Linked DNA regions of Homo sapiens: region 2 is linked to region 1. The links are contacts of gene promoters, found by promoter capture Hi-C in blood cells and fetal thymus (Javierre and others, 2016). All regions are on one chromosome and are shown on one strand. The core of a region is centred on a gene start or on the middle of the fragment in contact, and the rest is flanking DNA. Distances in the headings are between cores, read along the strand shown. Region 1 holds the start of SLC28A3-AS1 (SLC28A3 regulatory antisense RNA 1). Region 2 holds the start of ISCA1 (iron-sulfur cluster assembly 1).

Region 1 (7,197 bases), core at 2,990-5,489:
ACATAAGAACTAGTATTCTAGAGGTTAGACATATGGACAAATAATCATGGAATGAGATAGGCACCCTGCAGTTGAAAGGATTTCATTTAGACCAGGGAATACTGCCCCAACTCTGCTCTTGGCCATAGTGATCTGTGGGTTTGCCAGTTCTGCATGACCAGAAGGTGGAAGGAGAGATGAAGCATTTCTGAATGACCTAAGGTTTTCCTATCCTCTTATTTTATGAATATTATTGGAAGCATGGCCAGTACTTGGAAGAGGTAGGCTCTAATTCTTTGTGTTCATATGGCTTGTAAGACTTCAGTTTTTTCCTAATCCTGGTTTCTCATGGCAAAGTGGTTGGTTGTCAGTGGCCAGAGGACTAAATTTCAAGGTTGTCACTTGAGTACTTTTCTCTGTTCTGTGGCTATAGGCTATATCCCTAATACCAGCCACTGTCCTTCCATTTTGCAAAATGCATAATGGTTAAGAAGGGCTGACTTGATGTAGGTTCACTGTTTAATCTCCAAAGTTTCCTGGAATGAAAATGCAAAGTAGCCCACTAATAAACAGGTTTAAAGTACTCATTCTATAACCAAGGAGCAGTCACATTGCCTTTGTGATATAAAGGAAAATATCATTGTCATCACAAGGTTGTGTAGTTTTTAGAGCTAGAAAAAGAAAAGTCTACGCTTTTCTTCCTGCTTGAGCTTAAAACAAAATTAAGTAACAGGCTGTAAAGAGCAGCCTTTCTTTGGACCATATGGTTCATTAGCACCACATGGTGTACCTGTACCAGAGACAGTTATTGAGTCCTACGCTCCTACCTTTGTAAAATGTGAGTGATTGCCTCCCCTTGCCCCACTCCCGTACAGTCAGGGTAACTTAATCCTTCCTGGCACACTGTGTCCTTGTTGGCTTATAATACCTTCTTTATAAGCATACTTGATTTTTGGAATTGTTCTGTAACTGGAAATCAGTCTTATTGGACAAGTGCACATCTTAAGCTGTTCACAGTGCCCTACCAGCCTAATTAAACTACAGAAATATGAAAGCAATCAAGTGGGAGCATTTGCAAAATGAATGCCTGTTAGTAATCTGCATAGTTACAGAGACTGTCACTTAGACCTAACTGCTGGGATATGTTGACTTTACCAATGGGAAGAAAAAAAAATCAGACAATGCTGTGTATCCCATGACTCAAATCTATTTTTGGCTGAGACCCTAAGGCCTCTCCAGGGTCAGAGAATTTGTTTATAACCAGTTTCTGGATTGCGAAGAGAAATATCATTTCTGCCCCTCTCCCTGTTTTTTGCAAACCAATAGAAAACAACACGGAGAATAAGCAGCAGTAAACTTCCATCTTCATTGAAATGAGGAAACACTCATATCTGGAACCATAATACTGTATACCAAAAGGGGCTTTCAGGTTAGCGAAAACTACCAGTGGGAAGACACAGGCGGCTAGGGGCTTTGGATTTCATGGGTGGACTGGACAGAGTACGGAGTTCTCCCAGGGAGATGTTGCAGCCCTGGCTTGAGGCAAGGTTGGGGAGCACAGACCAACAGCAACAATCTGTCAACAGTGAGCGGGCTCAAACAGCTGAAAAACATAGGCATGCCATCTTTGCCCACTATATGTACATGGGTGAAGGAGAAACTGGGGAAGACAAGCAGCCTCCAGCTTCTATGTCTACTAAAGAGGAATAAAAACATCACCATGCACCAAAAACCTCCATTAGGTTGTTTCACTGGGAGAAGGGCCACTTACGACGTTCACAGGGTATTGGTGAGGTTTCTGGGGGTAACAAGCTCAAGAGGCTTAACCAGCTCATTTTCCTGGTCCTTGGCCTTTACTATCCTCTTATAATATAGCTCAGGAATAACACCCCCTTTCTCAGTTCAAGGATGCACAGCATTAATAAGGAATCAACGTAGGACCTATGTGAACATGTTGCATTTATAAAGAAATGTCACACGTACACACAGAAAGGTCATATCAAAGCAGGTAAAAATTAAGACAACATATTTCTCCAAAAACCAGTCTGACATCTTATAATACCAGAAATATACACACACTTCAAACCTGGGAAATCATCCTATGAATCTGCTCTGACCAATATGGTAGCCACTAATACCTGAAATATGGAGTAACCAAGTAACAAATTTTTAAATTTAAAACTGATACTCATTTCAGTTATTGGAAAACTTTTAAGCACATTTAGACCAACATGGGTATGTAAATTTACTTTGCAAATTTAGATTTTATGAAATCTAAACATGGATTAAGTATTATCAGTAAAACTTTAGTGTCTCAACTGAGATATGCAAACCAGACAGACTTAGTTTCATAAGAATGAAAAATATCTTACTGAAATAATATCTCCAATGTATTGAGTTAAATATATTAAAATTAATTTTACTTGTTTTTTAGCGTGGCTACTAGATCTTAAATTACATGTGACTTGCATATGTCTATCAGACACTATTGCTATAGAAAAAAAAGCACCAGCATGCAAAGTAAATGTACATGCACTGTCCAGAGTAGGAAAAAGAGAACCCCCAAACCAAAACCTGTAAACAAAGTAAATGCATGTCCACAGAGGAATGGTATGATACATAAACATAACATTCTGTGGGGTATGATGAACCAGGACACCAAACATTGAGAATGGGGGGAAAACATGCAAATATATTTTCCTAAAATAAAGTCTGAAGACTGCAAGGGCACATTGAGCTCCAAGGAAAATTGATACAAATAATAAGAAATATTTTAGTATATCATACTTCAGGGATAAACAGTCCTCTGGACATTAGGCCTCCTCCTTCACCACCACAAAAAACAAAACACACAAAAAACCCCAACTATTTTCACATAGCTTTTTCTTTTAAATTACTCTTGTACACAAACAGAAGGAAAAATAGAAACAAAATAAATTACTTAAGGTATTTCAAAACCTTTTTCACATTCAGTGTCTGTTTCTTGACTTGGTAATTGATGTTTGTGTTTTCTCACAGCATGTGGTCTTCATGCTATTAAGAGCAGTGGTGATGGGCATTTCGTTAAAGAGCACACCACCATTGTCTCTGGAATCTTTTTCTTAGACACTGACACCCATTCTTCAAGTTTGATACTGATGCCATCCTGGTCAATGAAATTATCAACGCAAGGTTTTCAGAGCTCAACCAGGACTTTTTTTCCTCAACTGCTTCTTACACGGCTTTTGATTGAAGAGTAGCTGCTTTGTCACCAGGAATACATTACCAAATGTGCAGATGAATAGGCCTACCGTTATGGCCTACAACAGGATGGCTCCTTGAAGGGAGACATGGATATTATGTACCCTTATGGTGTATCATATTACTTCTGCAAAATATTCACTATCCCTCCCTATGACAGGATAATTTAACTGTGGTGACTGACATCGTGCCTGTCACAGGACTTGTTTTGGCTAATGGAATGTCATGGAAGTAAAGGGTATCATTTCCTAGCGGAAGATGAAAGAGCCATCATGTGGTTCCCACCTTTCTTTTCCCTCTTAAGACCAACATGCCCCCCTTAGAGGCTGCTCCTTTAGACTGGGTGCTGAAGCAATATGGATTACAACCAAGATGGATCATTACAAACATGTGAGTGAAAAATAAATCTGTAAGCCACTGAGGTTTTTGGGTTGTTTGTTTCTGTAGCGTAATTTATGGTTAAACTGACTGATAGAACTCTTAAGCAGAATGGATTTAAACCCTGGTTTTGGTATGATCCACGTGTTCTCCTCAAGGACTCTTGATTTCTGCAGGACTTCCTGAGGGTAGTCAATGAGTTGGTGATTGATGACTAGTTTTCCCTTATGTGAGATTCAAGTTCAGGCTATTTCAGGTAAGCCAAGGTATATGCAGAGTGACCTCACCTGAGATGTGCTTAAACTGAGTCACCCTGGACTACTTAGTGGACACTAAGTGGGTGTGGGTGAGTCAGAGCCCAGTTGTTGGGAGCGGCCGTTTATAGCTGTATTCTGGTGAAATGCCTTGCAAACATTAAAGTCAGAAAATCCCATTGAGACTGGAATCAACAACACCTCACTTTGGGACATCATAGCAGTTCTTGGTGGGGAAGGGGCTGGTGGGGAGGGAGGGGAGGAGGAAAATGTTGTAGCTTTGAAGGTCCACTCTTGTTTTTCTTCATTCCTTGCAATTAAAGCTGATTCCATTATGGAAGCATCAATCTGTGGACAATAGCTTCTTTTTTTTTTCTTTCCAAAGCAGAAAATTCAGCATCTGTACTTCAGAGTTCCACTGGAGAAGTGGCTGACCTCAAAATGTATTAGAGATCCCATTGCAGTTAAAGGTCGATGGATTCAACAATGTGCAGCAGCCCTTCAAAGAATACAGACTGTGGTTTCCTCCTGGGATGACTTCACCAGGACCCTTGGCAACAGTGCTGGTGGAAAGTGGAAAGAAACAGTTACATGAGCCATAGATGGCAGAAACAGTAGGTGAGCAGACAATGACATTAAAAATAGTTCAGGGCAGGAAGCTGATTTTCTTGCTCACATTCTGGTTAGGGTGGATTAAAGGACAGAGACACTGGGGAATTTGTTTTGGCTCCTAAATTCTGGGTGTCCTCAAGAACTTTCCCTATTTCCTCCATAACAAGCAAAGATAGGATAGAATCAATCCTTATAAAACACTTGCACATTAAGGATGGCACCTTGTGTGGGAACACTGATTTTGCAAATTAAAACTGTACAGGGTGGGGGTGGCTGGCATGGGTCACTGGTAGTTTCTTGTTCACCATAGACGATCATCGTGTTGTCTGGACAGCCTGGATCCCCTTGAAGGGGAGCCAGCAGAGGGTAGCAGTTAAGGGCATAGGCTTAGCAGGAAGATCAGCCTGAATTTTGTATCTCACTTGTACTTGTGCTAATTTTGCTGGAGTAGACATAGCTTCCCTAAGCCTTAATTTTGTGGAATGAAAAAAAAAAAAAAAAGATAGTGCCCAACTTATACAGTAGTTGCAAGGTTTAAGTGAGCTAATTCATACAAAGTGCGTAACACACAGCTGGGTGCATATTAAATGCTTGAGTAGCACTAGCTAGTGTTATAGTTGCTAGCCTTATCTGAGAAAAGTCAGAGTGAAAGGTGGTTAGAATCACTGCATAAGTTCTTACTTTTAAATAGAGTCATAAAGTTATAAAATTAAGTCGATGAGTGAGCGGAGATTGCGCCACTGCACTCCAGCCTGGGAGACAGAGCAAGACTCCGTCTCAAAAAAAAAAAAAAAAAAGTAAGTGGATATTTAGGTGTGATTTGATTGATTATTAATGGAGTATAAAGAAATTATAATCAAGAATACAATACCTGCTCAACAGACTTTGGCAACAAGCTATCACCTTGGTTGTGTTTCCAGGGAAAGTGGAGTTGAAGGCATTCTCTAAAACGTGATGGCAGTTGATGTCCACAGGAGTGCTGGAGAGTATGCCTAGAAGTGGAACAGAGTCCCATTTATTTATTATTTTTTAGTTTTATTTATGTATTTATATATTTATTTATTTAGAGACAGAGTCTTGCGCTTTTGCCCAGGCTAGAGTGTAGTGGCATGATCTCTGCTCACTGCAACCTCTGCCTCCCGGGTTCAAGCGATTCAAGTGCCTCAGCCTCCCAAGTAGCTGGGATTACAGGCACGCACCCAGCTAATTTTTGTATTTTTAGTAGAGATGCGGTTTCGCCACGTTGGTCAGGCTGGTCTCAAACTCCTGACAGCTGGTCTCAAACTCCTGACATCAGGTGACCCGCCCGCCTTGGCCTCCCAGTGTGCTGGGATTACAGGCGTAAGCCACTGCACCCGGCCCCATTTATTTTATTAATTAAGGAAGTCACTGAACCCTCATTCTGTTCTTAGCTCCTCCACCACACTGCACACATTTAACTTTACAGTATGCTTAAGAGCAGCTCTAACTCTCAGCTTTCTGTGGCAGCGTGTGCTGCACATGCAAGCTGGAGGCACTGCCTGTCCTGAAAGCTGCCATTCATCCTGTGGGCACTGGGACACAAAGGACAGGGTGCGGTACCTGCGATGCAGGCTGTCATGAAGCAGGCCACGGTCCCCGCAATCAGAGCTCTCACTGCCCCCGAGGCGATATCACGCTTTCTGGAAGGAGCCATGGATGCTGGGAAACATGGAAGGAGGGATGTGAGATCAATGTTGAAGTACTGATTAAAACTCTTAGCCTCTGAAAATTGTTCTGAGGCTGGGCTCAGGTCAGCTGACTTTTTTTTTTTTTTCTTTAACTTAGCTGGGAAATTCAAGATTCAAGAACTTAGTAATAAACTCCACATACAGAGAAATTCTCTGCTGTGGGAAGAAGGGAAGAGGCTTGTTTGCCAAAAGGCTCAAAGGCTCATTCTCCACAGAAGAAAAACCTCCTAAGTTTCATCCAAAGGGCTATTTATTGAGGTCATGGCAAGGCAAAAGAGTGGCAGGAGGCATAGACTAAGGAGATGATGTGCAACTCAACTGTCACCATCTACTTCTATGCCCGTGGCAGACACCACTAAGAAATCACAGCATTCTTCCACTGGACTTCCAATGGCTCTCAGAATCCTTCTCCAGGTGCCCATCATAAACCTATTGGCATTGGCATGTAAGGTGAAGCCTACAGGTCACCCCTGGGCTGGGAGAAGCATCTGTATGTTTGAGAAAATTTTTCCTGAGGTCAGTTTGGGTGTGCAAGGGAAAACTATATTGCAGACTAGAGATTAAAAAAATAGACCCCAGAGGACTCATGACTGTTGCAAAGGCCTTTGTTTTTTCTGACATAACAGTACAGAGCAAAATGGGGATCCAAGTATGTCTATGGCACATCTGTGTTGTTGAAGAATGTTCTTTTCACTTACTGAGTCCGCCGATCACGATTCCTAGGGACCCGATATTGGCAAAACCACAGAGAGCGTAAGTGGCGATTATCTCAGAACGAATCTGTAAGCAAGCATAAACACATATGTATACACAATCTGAGCTGGCTTAACAAATCTGACATCCAACTGGGCTTCATTTTGACCATAAATTCAATATTGACAAATAAATGCACAGTCCATGGTATCAAATACCCATTACTCCCTAGACCTCTTTTACCATCTCCACTTGAATTTTGTGGGAAGATGGAAGGGGGCTGTGTGGACTCAGTGACTCTCTACAAAGGGCTTATGATTGGTAGCCTTGGC
Region 2 (7,197 bases), core at 2,983-5,482, 2.0 Mb after region 1:
TCCTGCTGTGAGGCCCTGTTCCTAACAGGCCATGGACCAGTACCAGTCTGTAGCGCAGGGACTGGGGACCCCTGTTCTAAGTGATTGTCAATAAAAGCTAGCTTTCTTATCAACCACATGTAAATTTTCACCATATTTTCCTATGTGCATGCTGAAGAAATTAATCACTTACTGTCAAATAAAAATAGCTTTCTGTAAGTTTATTTTAAAAAGGCATAGCCTGGCTGGGCCTGGTGCCTCATGCCTATATTCCCAACACTTTGGGAGGCCGAGGTGGAAGTATCACTTGAGGTCAGCCAAGGTGGAAGGATCACTTGAAGTCAGGAGTTTGAGACCAGCCTGGCCAACATGGTGAAACCCCGTCTCTATTAAAAATACAAACATTAGCTGAGGATGATGGCATGCGCCTGTAATCCCAGCTACTCCGGAGGCTGACGCATGAGAATCGCTTGAACCCAGGAGGCGGAGGCTGCAGTAAGCCGAGATCATGCCACTGCACTCCAGCCTGGGAAACAGAGTGAGACTCTGTCTCAAAAAAAAAAAAAAAAAAAAAAAAAAGGCATAGCCATGGAAAATATCCGCGGGAACTAAAATCTGAAACGTGGTCTTGGTTTAATCTGAGTGGATCAAAGGCACAGATGGGCACACCACTGCATGATCTAAACAAAACAAATGTGTCTGTCACACTACTCCGTTTACCAGCCCCAAATATATAATTTTTTTTATCTCCAAGTGGTTTTCTAAATTATCTAATTTGGTTTTACAAAGTCATCTATTTTCTTATTTTCTCAACTTTTAGCAGGAAACACTTAAATACAGTAAATGAAAGCAATTCGTGGGGATTGGTCTACTTATCACCAAGTTGCTGATGTTCACATCTCATACTGAAGGACTCTTTAAGGGAAAAGTAACATTCAACAGGAACCTGTGTGCCTGGGAAGCTGCTGTTACAGGAACTAAAATATGTCTTAATTTTCCTGTGCCAGGCCAAAACCAAACCTACTCCACTGGGAGGGTGTTACTAATGATGGACAACCCAGGTCAGTACTCAACCAAGGGAAAAGGTTCTTAGAACTTTCAAAGTGACTGATCTGATTTTCAGAACAAGGGAGAGTGGTTAAAAGGGAAGAGTTGGGACTTAAAAAAAATCGAGCTATAAGAGGTACTTTTTGTGTCTCAGTACCAGGGAGAGGCTAAGAATCCTACCCTGCTTTAAGTCTACATACTCTGGCAACTTTGTGCTTAGGTAAAATTCATGTGAGAAACAGCATAAAATCTTCAACTACACAGCATGCTGCAGGGCCTAGCAGCCTGCCAGTACCAGTGCACTTCCCAGAACAACTAAGAAACATGTAATTCTCAAGAAATTTATGTACTATTAATGAATATAGCTTACCTGAGATTTGGCCCATGTTTTAAAATTTAAGAGCTTCCTGAAGCCCACTAAAATATGATGGTTTTTACTCACATGCAAATCACAGGAATATGACTTTTAAAGTGAGAGGTTATCTTTGAGGTAAGGTATTTTGGCCTAATTGAAAAATAAATATATTTCCAAGATGTTTCCGCTGTTAAAATTAAGGGAAAAGGCATTGTAGATGAATGTTTTATCACTACTTCATAGCAACACGCTTTCTAATCCTTGTAGGAGAAACTTTTCATTCTCAATCCTGTATTTCTTTAAGTAACTCCCCAGGCAATTTTCATTTTTTGCTGTTTAAGAAAATTAAATTAAATTCAAAGCTAAAGTTAACTCTGTGATTATGCATACTAAACATGTGCCAACAACTACAACTTAATTTCTCTACAAACATGGCATTTTAATGTCAACATATCAATTTTCTGGGGGAACAAAAGATGGTAAATAAATAGAGCCAGTGAACAAGTACAGTGTATTTTATTAAAATCATTCTTTAACAGCCATGGCTGGCATTAGAGTGTCAAAATAAGAAAAGACAAAAGCATTCTCTTTTGTCTTTTCTTATTTGTGTATATGTGTATATACACATCCAAAATACATATAATATACAAATATATATTTGTAGGCCAGGTGTGGTGGCTCATGCCTGTAATGCCAGCACTTTGGGAGGCCAAGGTGGGAGGACGGCTTGAGGCCAGGAGTTTGAGACCAGCCTGTGCAACAGAGCAAGACCCTGTCTCTACAATAAATTAAAAAAAAAAAATTAGCAGTCAAGGTGACATGTGCCTGTAGTCCCAGTTACTTGGGAGGCTGAGGTGAAAGGATTGCTTGAGCCCAGGAGTTTGAAGCTGCAGTAAGCCATGATCATGCCACTGCATATGAGCCTGGGTGACAGAGGAAGATCCTGTCTCTAAAAAGAAAAAGGTTTGTAATCATGGCATATATACATAATTTTGCAGCCTCCATTGAAACAATTTAACAAATTATTTTTTCATTTGATACATGGTAATAAACATATATTCACCATTTACTGAGCACCTTCTAAGTGTTTAATGGTTTAAACGTAACATCTTTTTATTCCTGCCATTGTGATTTAGGTATTAAAGATTAAATAATTTGCACAGCATAAGTCAAAGAATGAAGATTTATAACGCTGAAACTTAAAAAAAACCATAATTTACAATGACTACATCCTTCACCAACAGGATCTACTCTCACGTACTTAACCGTTCTTTCACTGTTAGACTGCTAGGCTACTTCCAGTGCTTCTTGTGTAGTATTTCCTAAACTGCCTTCGTATAGAAATCTTAGTGCTTGGTCACTGTTCAAAAGGACTTCTGGTTCTAGTCCAATGAACTAACACACAGTTCCTTACTGAGCATTAAGCATTTCCTAGCTTCTCAACTGGACTCCAATAGAAAGTTAAGCCCTAAGGCACCTTCCGTACACAATGAATTCATCAAGAATGATAGTGGCTGTGCACCATCATTCTCTCATAGAACTTGGTTGAGTTTTAATGCACAGCTGTGATCCACCCCAGTCCTACAAATTAGAGTTGCTCTGACTTGTACAATGATGGAAATAAATCTGTCTGCAAGCAGGGCACTATTTACTCTTCAGATTCTTTAATCACATCTGGCTCCTGCAAGTTCAATTCCACTTGTCAATTTCTAGATATGTAGGGAAATAGGGAAGATGTAGATAATCTGATAATGACAGCATTGAACTGTGTTATATTATCAGTTACTTTTCCTAGCCTTTTGTTGACATCTGGTAGACTCCACACATATAGCACTTTTCAAATGTTGCAACATGTCAAATTCCTAACATCAAAATTTATATATCCAGGTAACATTTATCCCTTCCAATCAGTTTTACTGAATTAGGTATACTTGTGTTTGCTCTTATCTGTCTCTACTTATTAGACCCAAGTAACATTTACCTCTTCCAATCAGTTTTACTGAATTACGTATACTTTTGTTTGCTCTCTTATCTGTCTCCATTCATTAGGCCTTTGACGGCATCACTACTTTTGCACTTGACGATACATGCTGATGATAAACTAAGCACAAAGAGCAATACATGCCATAGTGTCCTGACTAGGGCACGAATGCTGGAACTAAAATGACTGCAAGCCCACCAACACAGGCTGTGTGGAAAACAGCATTGATGTGCCTTCTCTCTGGTACAGCTTCTGAGAAGCTTCTAAAGTCAGCCATACTTAAGTAGGACAACAGAGTACAGACAGTAGACTCCTGCAAGTTAATCAAAACAGCTGAGTCAGGCAACATGGATACCTTGAGAACTGCTATGATAACATGTACTGAAGCAGAGGGGAGCAAGTGTGGAGAGAGACCAAGCCTGAGAATGTGCAGTGCTATTACTCCTAGTAAGAGGTGGCAAAGGCTTGGCCTGCGACTGTGCCCCGTAGGCTGGGAACTGTATAACTCATTCATTTGTCTTGAAACACAGCAGATCTTGATAAATGTCTGCTGAATGACTAGGAATGGAGAGAAAGGGACTGACATAGAAATTCTGAAGGAAGGGCAAGGCACGGTGGCTCATGCCTGTGATCCCAGCACTTTGGGAGGCTGAGACGAGTGGATCACGAGGTCAGGAGTCCAAGACCAGCCTGGTGAAGATGGTGAAACCCCATCTCTACTAAAAATACAAAAATAAATAAATAAATAAGCTGGGCATGGTGGTGGGCGTCTGTAATCCCAGCTACTCAGGAGGCTGAGGCAGAGAGTTGCTTGAACTCAGTAGGCAGAGGCTGCAGTGAGCTGAGATCACGCCACTGCACTCCAGCCTGGGCAACCCAGCGAAACCCTGTCTCAAAAAAAAAAAAAAAAAAAAGAAATTCTGAAGGAAGAGGTAACATGTCAAATGGTGATGGAGAAAGACATCAGGGACCAGGCATGGTGGCTCACACCTGTAATCCCTGCACACTGGGAGCCTGAGGCAGTGGACTGCTTGAGCCCAGGAGTTCGAGACCAGCCTGGGCAACCCAGGGAGACCCTAGGTGCATGCATGACGGTGCACACCGGTGGTCCCAGCGACTTGGGAGCCTGAGGTGGGAGGATCGCTTGGGCCCAGGAGGTTGACGCTGCAGTGTGCCATGATTGCACCACTGAACTACAGCCTGGGAGATAGAGTGAGACCCTGTCTCCAAAAACAAAACAAACAAAAACAAACAAACAAACAAAAAACAAAAAACAAAAAACCCAGTTAATAGGGTTGCTAAAAAGCAAAAAAGAAAAGGCAAAAACTGTTCCTGAACCTTCTGGCTCTTCCTGGATCTACCATTACCAGTGGAAGAATTCTGAATAATTCTTACTGAGATTGAAAGAGACACAAAGAATGAGTTGTGCCCTCTAGTTCTTAAAACCTTGTTTAATTCTACATCCCACGGTGTATGAAAATAAGCTTGCTCCTACAGAAAAGAGGTAATATAGAATGATACATAATCAGTACACTAGTAGTACCATATATAATCAGGGTAATATCAAAGGCCTAAAAAATTGATTATAAAAATAAATTCTCTCACCTGATCACAATTTTCTTCTACTTTGCTACAAACTTATTTTCTGGTAATAGGCCCTTTTGGCATTAGATGCAACAGAATCGATGAGTCAATTTAAATCGTTTTTTTTCCCAGTCTCTAAGCGAATGGTTGCATAAAGTCGTCTCCTTCACTAAAAGGGGAGTGTATGTAGGAACGTGATCATAAATTTTTCTTTTGGGGTGAAAGTATTTTGGAACTAGATAGAGGTGATGGTTGCACGACACTGTGAATGTCTTAAATGGCACTGAATTGTACCCTTTAAAAGGACTAATTTTATGTTATGTGGATTTTCCTTCCACTAAAAAACTGAACGGTGCGGCCGGAACACTGAGCTCAGTGAATTCTCTAAGTAATCAATGGTTGCACTCTGGTGCCCTCTGAGTGTTTGACCTTTCACCCAGAAAAGGCTGTAAACTCACTCTGGGAAATCATCTTTTGTCCTAAGAGCCTAGGCTTGCTAGAGGCACAGAGGGAGTTTCAAAGGCCTCAATCACCCAGGACACCGGCAAGTAACGCTTTGCGCGCCGCGGCCGTGACCTCGGCAGGAGCCGGGGGCTTTGTTGTCGCTGTGCTCGCCCTCTGCGAACGCTGTCGCCCCGACACAGCGGTCCTTCGGACAGCCTGGTCCCTCCCCACCCCACGCACCTCCAGGCTAGGACTCCGGGCCACCACCGGGAACCCCCGCCACCGGGCACGTTCAGCCTCTGCTTAACCGGAACGGCCGAACAGCGCAGGCCGGCAGGAGTGTGGAGGCGATCGGCCCCCGGGGACGCCCACCCCCGGGATCCCCTCCGGCCCGCACGCGGTTGCCGCGCGGCCTGACGGGAAACGTAGTTTCCGGGGCCAAGAGAGCAGCCCCGCCCGGGACTTGTTTATCGTTGCAAAGAGGGGCCGGAGGCGAAGGAGGCGGCGAGGCTGTGCGGCGGGTCGGAGCGACGCCGAGGTCTGACGTGTCCGCGTCCCTGCGGCCCCACTCCCGGCCGCCGTGACCTCCCCTTGCACGGGGCGGACACGAGCAATGTCACGGGCCCCGCCGCGCGCCGCGAGCACTCACCAGGGTGAGGGCTGCCCGGGTGGGCTGCAGCTTCCTCTTGCTCACAGCCCGGACAGTTGCCCGGACTAAGGAAGCCGACATCTTCGCCGTCCCGGCGCCCCGGTGCCTCGGGCCGAAGGTCGGCCGCCTCAGCTTCTCTCCATGGACACGGCGGGCGCATTGACGCCACAAGCTTCGGCGCACGGCGCCCTCAGTCCTAGCCCCGCCCCCCGCCGCCACCATTGGGTGAGTTGCATGAGTGACGAGCCGGGGGCGGGGCAAGCCGCTCGGGGCGGGGTTTTGCCGCTCAACGCCGGGGGTCTAGCAGCTGGGTTGCGCACGGTCTCCGGCAGTGGGGTTACCACGCTGCAGGGCGCAGGGCCCGGGAGGAATGTCTTCACCGCCGAGGACGGAGTCGGCGTGACGTCGGGGAGCGGGCGGGAGGGGGCGAGGAATGACCTCAGACCTGCTGACTCCGGATGCACGTAGCTTCACCACCTGCCCCCGGGGCAAGGTGCAGCGTCACCCCCTGCTTTAATACTCACCGTGACAAACACCATCATAGGCGGTGACACTTAAGGACGCATAAGTCAACCCTGCACTGGGAGCTTATGCTCTCAAATGCAGAGTGATCGTTCCGATGCCCAGACATCTACATCCATTTTCATTCTTCTTTTGTGGTCCAATTAGGCTGTTCTTAAGAGCATGGCGTTACCGCAGAGTTGTATAATCGCCACCCTCCACCCTTCTCCCCAGCGTGCTGTACTGCTGGGGATGCTGAAGGGTGGTGACTAATGCAGTTTTCATTCTGGTGCTGAACTGGGAACCAACCCTACTTGAAAATGTGACTGGGCAGCAGTGTGAATAGTCACATTTATAGCGAGCAACAATTACTCGATTTAAAACGTGTTGTCAGACCTTGTCCTGGCTGCTCAGGGGCTTAATTCTGCCTTTTGATGCAGTATTCCTGAGCACCAGACACTGCACAGGCGCGGTACCCAGGCATACACAGGAAGCCAGGTAAAGAGGGGCCAGGGAAGAATGAGATACTGGCAGGACAGGGCTAGCAGATGAAGAGAGGAGGACATCAAGACAGGTGGCATTTGTCATTGAAGTGCTAGAAGTGAAGGAAAAAGGGCAGGAGGGGTCTATGAAGCAGTCCTGGGGAGGACAGATTCG

Evidence for each region. Contacts are between HindIII fragments. The CHiCAGO score rates a contact against its expected background, and 5 or more counts as called.
Region 2: a fragment that was not itself captured here is called in contact with the fragment with the promoter of SLC28A3-AS1 in region 1 in 1 of 17 cell types (naive B cells); the score reaches 5.8 in naive B cells.

Annotation. Positions count from the first base shown.
Region 1 is chr9:84,273,931-84,281,127 of GRCh38, forward strand. It overlaps SLC28A3-AS1 (SLC28A3 regulatory antisense RNA 1), which reads left to right and starts at 4,240. Exons shown (of 2, transcript XR_001746802.1): 1 at 4,240-4,469. SLC28A3 (solute carrier family 28 member 3) reads right to left here. Exons shown (of 18, transcript NM_001199633.2): 15 at 6,871-6,952; 16 at 6,045-6,143; 17 at 5,335-5,455; 18 at 1,527-4,414. The coding sequence ends at 4,288. RefSeq lists enhancers at 2,774-3,325, 3,458-4,657. The HindIII fragment of the contact is 13,311 bases long and covers 1-7,197 here.
Region 2 is chr9:86,276,339-86,283,535 of GRCh38, forward strand. It overlaps ISCA1 (iron-sulfur cluster assembly 1), which reads right to left and starts at 6,200. Exons shown (of 4, transcript NM_030940.4): 1 at 6,040-6,200. The coding sequence starts at 6,120. It overlaps LOC124902194 (a long non-coding RNA gene), which reads right to left and starts at 5,743. Exons shown (of 2, transcript XR_007061634.1): 1 at 5,631-5,743; 2 at 1,879-5,115. RefSeq lists a silencer at 5,581-5,880 and enhancers at 6,051-6,200, 6,321-6,600. The HindIII fragment of the contact is 1,224 bases long and covers 3,621-4,844 here.